Regions from separate parts of the Homo sapiens genome. Here region 1 is linked to region 2. Evidence: promoter capture Hi-C in human tissues and cell types (Jung and others, 2019). All regions are on one chromosome and are shown on one strand. The core of a region is centred on a gene start or on the middle of the fragment in contact, and the rest is flanking DNA. Distances in the headings are between cores, read along the strand shown. Region 1 overlaps LOC105369686 (a long non-coding RNA gene). Region 2 holds the start of PDE3A (phosphodiesterase 3A).

What was found. The method cuts DNA at HindIII sites, captures the fragments that hold promoters and counts their contacts. A contact is called where the count stands out against the background at its distance.
Region 1: a fragment that was not itself captured here is called in contact with the fragment with the promoter of PDE3A in region 2 in 2 of the 25 tissues and cell types used here (H1 embryonic stem cells and bladder).

The regions. Positions count from the first base shown.
Region 1 is chr12:20,203,905-20,206,687 of GRCh38, forward strand. The region is part of intron 1 of LOC105369686 (a long non-coding RNA gene); the gene reads left to right. Among named protein-coding and RNA genes, the nearest start is that of LINC02468, 77 kb to the left of the region's middle. The HindIII fragment of the contact is 8,249 bases long and covers 1-2,783 here.
Region 2 is chr12:20,367,129-20,370,195 of GRCh38, forward strand. PDE3A (phosphodiesterase 3A) reads left to right here and starts at 1,409. Exons shown (of 16, transcript NM_000921.5): 1 at 1,409-3,067. The coding sequence starts at 2,157. PDE3A-AS1 (PDE3A antisense RNA 1) reads right to left here. Exons shown (of 2, transcript NR_186033.1): 1 at 2,713-3,067. RefSeq lists a silencer at 2,447-2,741. The HindIII fragment of the contact is 7,833 bases long and covers 1-3,067 here.

The DNA.
Region 1 (2,783 bases), core at 190-2,689, 160 kb before region 2:
AACTTTATAATAAGTTTTGAAATCAGGTGTTATTAACCCTCCAATTTTGTTCTTTTTCAAGGTTTTGTCTATTCTATATCCCTTATATTCTTCAAGAGAATCTTATAATGTTTGTCAAATCCTTTCACAAAATAAAAGCAAAAGGAAACCCCTGTTGAGAATTTTATATGGTTGTGTGGAATTATAGATCAATTTGAGAAAAACTGATGTCTTAATATTATCAAGCCTTCTGACCTATTAACTAGGTATATCTCTCTAAATTCACTTGTAGTTTTCAGAGTACTGACATTTATTCCTTTATATTCTTTATACCAAATACAGTACCATGAAAGAAAATACGGTTGTGATACCAATATTAAAACTTTAAACCTTTTTCTGAATGTGTATATATCTCTGAAATTGTATTTTATTTGGCCAAAATATACACTTTGCCTTTCGGGATATCTTTCTATTATTTTAAAAGGATTTCTGTCAATATATATTTTTCCATTAAAATAACCATTTTCTTAAACTTGATTTTTACAGCATTTTACACAGTTCATTTTTTATGAGAATTTTTACACACTACATATATAATTCTCATCTATTTTTACATCATGTAGTTTGTGAAGTTAAAGATTTGGCAGTTAAATGGCTTAACAAGTTTTTCAGATTCACAGCTAGTCATCAAAAAAGCCAAGTGTAGAAGTATAATACCTATTTCTTAGCATTATAGGACACTTGATTGTGTTCCAGTAAATTAACTTTGAATTTTTTCCCATTTTTAGGGATGATGAATTAAGGTTTTAAACAATGTAACAATGAAGTGCATTTCTTATCTGCTTTGCAGTTCAGTTAGCATAAGGAAAAAACTTTCTTCTTACTGATTCTTAGAGGTTATCAAACAAAAATCTTAGGATAATTGCCATCCTACTTATCAAAGGGCAAAGCCCAGGGTTATGATCTTATGAACAAGTAGTCAGTTTTGAAGGGACTGATATGAATTTGTGTAATCATCCCTCTAATTGTTTTATTACAATGTTTATTTTTTCCAAAGAATTAAGATAAATGGTAATTGGTACTACCTAATAGTTAATTAATTTAACCTAATTAAATACCGTACATTTCAACAAAACATGTAACTCCTTCAGAGGTGCAGTTTTAGCAATATGCCTGAAGTTTCAAATATTATGCCATGATGCATGCAAAAATGATTAAATTCTTCTCACTAAAAGTGCTTTCTGTTTTATACGTTTCAAGGTAAATACCATTTTAGGTTGTAGCATCTTATGATTTCTAAGGTAATGTTGATTTTATCTTTGATGCAGAAAGCAACTGTCACTGGGAATTGACTAAGCTTTTTGTTGTCAAAGGTTACTACTATTTTTACACCACTCTGGTATGCCAGTAAATGTTTCTCACTTCATTATCACGCCGAGGCCTTTATAATATTGCTAATACAGGATGAAAATATTTATTCACATTTGGTTTGGATGTTTGCGAGCATGAATGATTGTGGGGAATCAAATGTAGTTGTTAAAAAAGGGTTTCCGCTGATGAACAACAAAATCCCTCAGAGCTATGGGTACAAGTATTTTAAAAAGGTACATTTATTTGATTACCACCAGATGTTTGTAGTGTGTTCCAGTTGCTTCCCTATTAACTGACTTAAAAAAATAGTCATTAAGCCAAGACTTCTTCAACTTTCTAAACAAGACTGAGTTTTTTTAAAATATAAATTCAAATGTATAAAGTATTTTAAAAATACTAAATTATGTTTTTAGCATTCAGCTTATTTTGGAGTTAAGGGTTGACTAACTTCAATTGTTTGTTATGTTGCTTTTTGCTAGGTTAGAAATAAGTATTTTAAATATGTGGCAGAAAACCTTCTAAAGCACCTAAATGAGCCATTATTAAAGATCTGACTTTATTATTATTTATTATTAAAGATTAGACACTGAATGTGTTTAGATGTATACTTCAGAGTTTTTCTAAAATACTAAATTCCCACATTTTTACTTTCCTAAAAACAATGTTGGACTTGTTCTAACCAGCTTTACTTGAGTTTCTTTCTAAGTTGCTTACAGGGCGAATGACTTAAATCACTGTTGTTCAGATTGATAGTATATGATGATTTAACCCTGAGAACTCTAGTGCTGTGTATTTTGGCTTCATTCCAAGTCACCCTGAGCTACACATAGGGTATACTTTGTCTCTTCTGAAATCATGAAAACTGCAGTTTCAGGTTATGTGCTACCTGCTTCAAAATAATAAACTGCCCTATCTATTGCCTTCATGCATGAACCTATAAAGTGTTTCCCATGATTCCTTTAAAACTAAATTGGGAACGTGTTCTGTCAGTGGATATTCATTTCAGTGGATATTCATTTAAGTGTATGGGTTTGCATGCTGTTGTTATATCTGTTTTAGAAGTGGATTTTCACAGGAAACTAGCAGTGTTTCCCTGTAAAATTTAGGTCTAATTTCATGTAGATAATTATTGCTGCCTCTACCTTTTCTCTAAGTGTGTATAATTGAACACACAATTACTTATTTGTAATCCAAGTTACTAAGTAGAGTTTCAAGCCAAGAGCTTCTAGCATAAAGCAGTCTCTTTGGTTAGCATTTGAATATGGAAGCCACACTACGTGAAGAGTATATTTTAAGATTAACAATGTTTTGGAAGCACTTTTAAAAGAAATCTTATGACTACGTTTACAACTCTCAGGCTTAAATCAAAGGACTTGCCTTGCTGGAGAAGATCTGAGAGATAAGAACACATAAAGCCTCAGTGGTAAATCAGT
Region 2 (3,067 bases), core at 159-2,658:
TCTTCTCCCCCTGTCCCCATAAATTAATTTTATCTCAAGGATCTCCTTTTGGCTTTTTTTATTGCTTCATGTCTACATACAAAATACAGTGGCATATTGAATCAATTATCTAAATGCTCTAGGCTGTAAATACACTTTAACCTGGAATGTCAAGATAATTAAGACAAAATTGGATTATTAAGATTATTATTAGTGAGGGCAAATGACATCTAAGATAGCCATGTTAAAAGTGGAGTATCATATTAAAAAGACAACTAGATCCCAGGGAACATCAATAGAGTTTAAGTCCATTGAACAGATACTGAATTCTTTTTCATAATCTGCCAAAAAAAGGTTAGCTTGAAAATTTTCTTTTAGTTTCTCAAATATCACACTGCTGCAGTACACGAACCTTTACTCATTAATAACTAAGGTCCTGATTTTTTTCATATGCTTTGCTCGAAGATGTAGTATTTTGCAGCCATAGACAGTCTTCTAAGATCTCTCCTAGTGTTAACCCACCTATCCTCACCTCTCCCTTGAGATTTTTCTTTATTTTTTGATGAACTATCTGGGCTTTTAAACTTTGTTAACCTTTTTTGAGGATACGGTCACTTAATCTCAATGTAATTTTACTTTCCACAGTCAAAAACTATTGTGTAATACTCATGCACTGGATTTAAATGACTGCTGCCTCTCCTTCCTTTCTTTTTATACTATTGTGGTCTAGGTAAGGCTGATTCTTCCATCATTTGAACCAACAGGCCAGGCTTGGGTTCTCATAAAGCAGACCTTCCAGCAGGAGCGACCAAAGGATGACACTGTCACCTGAAATTGGACTGCTGTTGTACCTGACTTGGGAACATCTTTGAATCAGACAGTAGAAGTGGCTGTCATTTTCAGGGACAGTAGAAAGTATGTTGGCTCTCATCTGCCAAGTAGGCAAACACAATCTTTTTTTTTTTTTTTTCCTTCCAACGTTCTAGGGAGCTCAGCCTCAGGGCTAGCCGCAGCCCCCCACACCCCGGGGCTGCGGTGGGCTGCGCGGTGGATCAGCCTCAGCAGCCCCTGCTCCAGCCTGTAGGGTGAACCGGCCGCTTTCCCAGCAAAGGAGCAATCGAGCTGAGGGTAGCGCCTCCTCCGCAGGAGGGGGCGGGAGCTCGGCTGAGAAAGCTTTCCTAGGGAGTTGCCTTAAAGAAAGAAAGCGGAATTGTCGATCACTCCAGTTGCCAGTTTTATACAATTTTAAGCAGTCGTCGCCACTCGTTTCCCCTTTGCAAAACTGCAAATCACCACCAACCTTGCATCAAATAGAAGTGGGGAGGGAAAAAAAAAGCAAATCTCCTTCTCCCTTCTCACCCTCCCTTTCTTCTCACCCTCCCTTCCTCTCTTACTCGCTCCTTCTCCCTCCCTCCCTTCTGCGGCTGCCGCTAGTCTCTCGGTCTGGCTCTCTCTCCGACGGGACTTAGCAACTTCTTATTTCTCAGCCCCTTGTCCATTTTTTTTTTTCCATCCTTTGCCATGAATTGGATTGACAGAGGCGGGGGAGGCTTTGCTTTCTGCCCCAGGGAATGGCGATTCGCGTCCTGGGGCCGTGCCGGGGAGAATCGGCCGAGGAGAAAGAAAGAGTGATAGAAAAAGAGCTGCAGGAAGGAGGAGAAGGGAGACCTCCATCTGCCGCGGGCCCGGCGCGCTGCAGCGCAGCGCAGCGCCGAGCTGCGCCTCGGAATGGCCCGGAGCCCGCCCTGCGCCCCCGGCTCCTCCAGCGTCAGCGGCTCCTGCGCGCGGGATGCATTGGGCAATTTTTGAAATCCTGAAGTAGGAAGAGACCCCGGAGGATATAAGTCGGGGGTGGGGGTGGAGCAGAGAATCTGTGAAAGATATTCAAAGAGAGAAAAGGGGAATCCTGATCGTTTCTGCCCGTGCTTGTTTTCAACTTGAGCGTGCTAGCCTTTAACTTGAAGAAGTCTCATTGGAGCATCTAGCATTCTCCAGGAGTTATTCGAAAGCTGAAACTTTCAGTGGATTGTGGGCCTGGGGAGAAGAAGGATTCCGAGGGTGGAATTGGGAAGAGCGTGCGTGCGTGTGTGTGTGTGTGTGTGTGCGCGCGCGCGCGTGGGTCGGGGCGGGGGCGTCGGGGGGCCACTGGGAATTCAGTGAAGAGGGCACCCTATACCATGGCAGTGCCCGGCGACGCTGCACGAGTCAGGGACAAGCCCGTCCACAGTGGGGTGAGTCAAGCCCCCACGGCGGGCCGGGACTGCCACCATCGTGCGGACCCCGCATCGCCGCGGGACTCGGGCTGCCGTGGCTGCTGGGGAGACCTGGTGCTGCAGCCGCTCCGGAGCTCTCGGAAACTTTCCTCCGCGCTGTGCGCGGGCTCCCTGTCCTTTCTGCTGGCGCTGCTGGTGAGGCTGGTCCGCGGGGAGGTCGGCTGTGACCTGGAGCAGTGTAAGGAGGCGGCGGCGGCGGAGGAGGAGGAAGCAGCCCCGGGAGCAGAAGGGGGCGTCTTCCCGGGGCCTCGGGGAGGTGCTCCCGGGGGCGGTGCGCGGCTCAGCCCCTGGCTGCAGCCCTCGGCGCTGCTCTTCAGTCTCCTGTGTGCCTTCTTCTGGATGGGCTTGTACCTCCTGCGCGCCGGGGTGCGCCTGCCTCTGGCTGTCGCGCTGCTGGCCGCCTGCTGCGGGGGGGAAGCGCTCGTCCAGATTGGGCTGGGCGTCGGGGAGGATCACTTACTCTCACTCCCCGCCGCGGGGGTGGTGCTCAGCTGCTTGGCCGCCGCGACATGGCTGGTGCTGAGGCTGAGGCTGGGCGTCCTCATGATCGCCTTGACTAGCGCGGTCAGGACCGTGTCCCTCATTTCCTTAGAGAGGTTCAAGGTCGCCTGGAGACCTTACCTGGCGTACCTGGCCGGCGTGCTGGGGATCCTCTTGGCCAGGTACGTGGAACAAATCTTGCCGCAGTCCGCGGAGGCGGCTCCAAGGGAGCATTTGGGGTCCCAGCTGATTGCTGGGACCAAGGAAGATATCCCGGTGTTTAAGAGGAGGAGGCGGTCCAGCTCCGTCGTGTCCGCCGAGATGTCCGGCTGCAG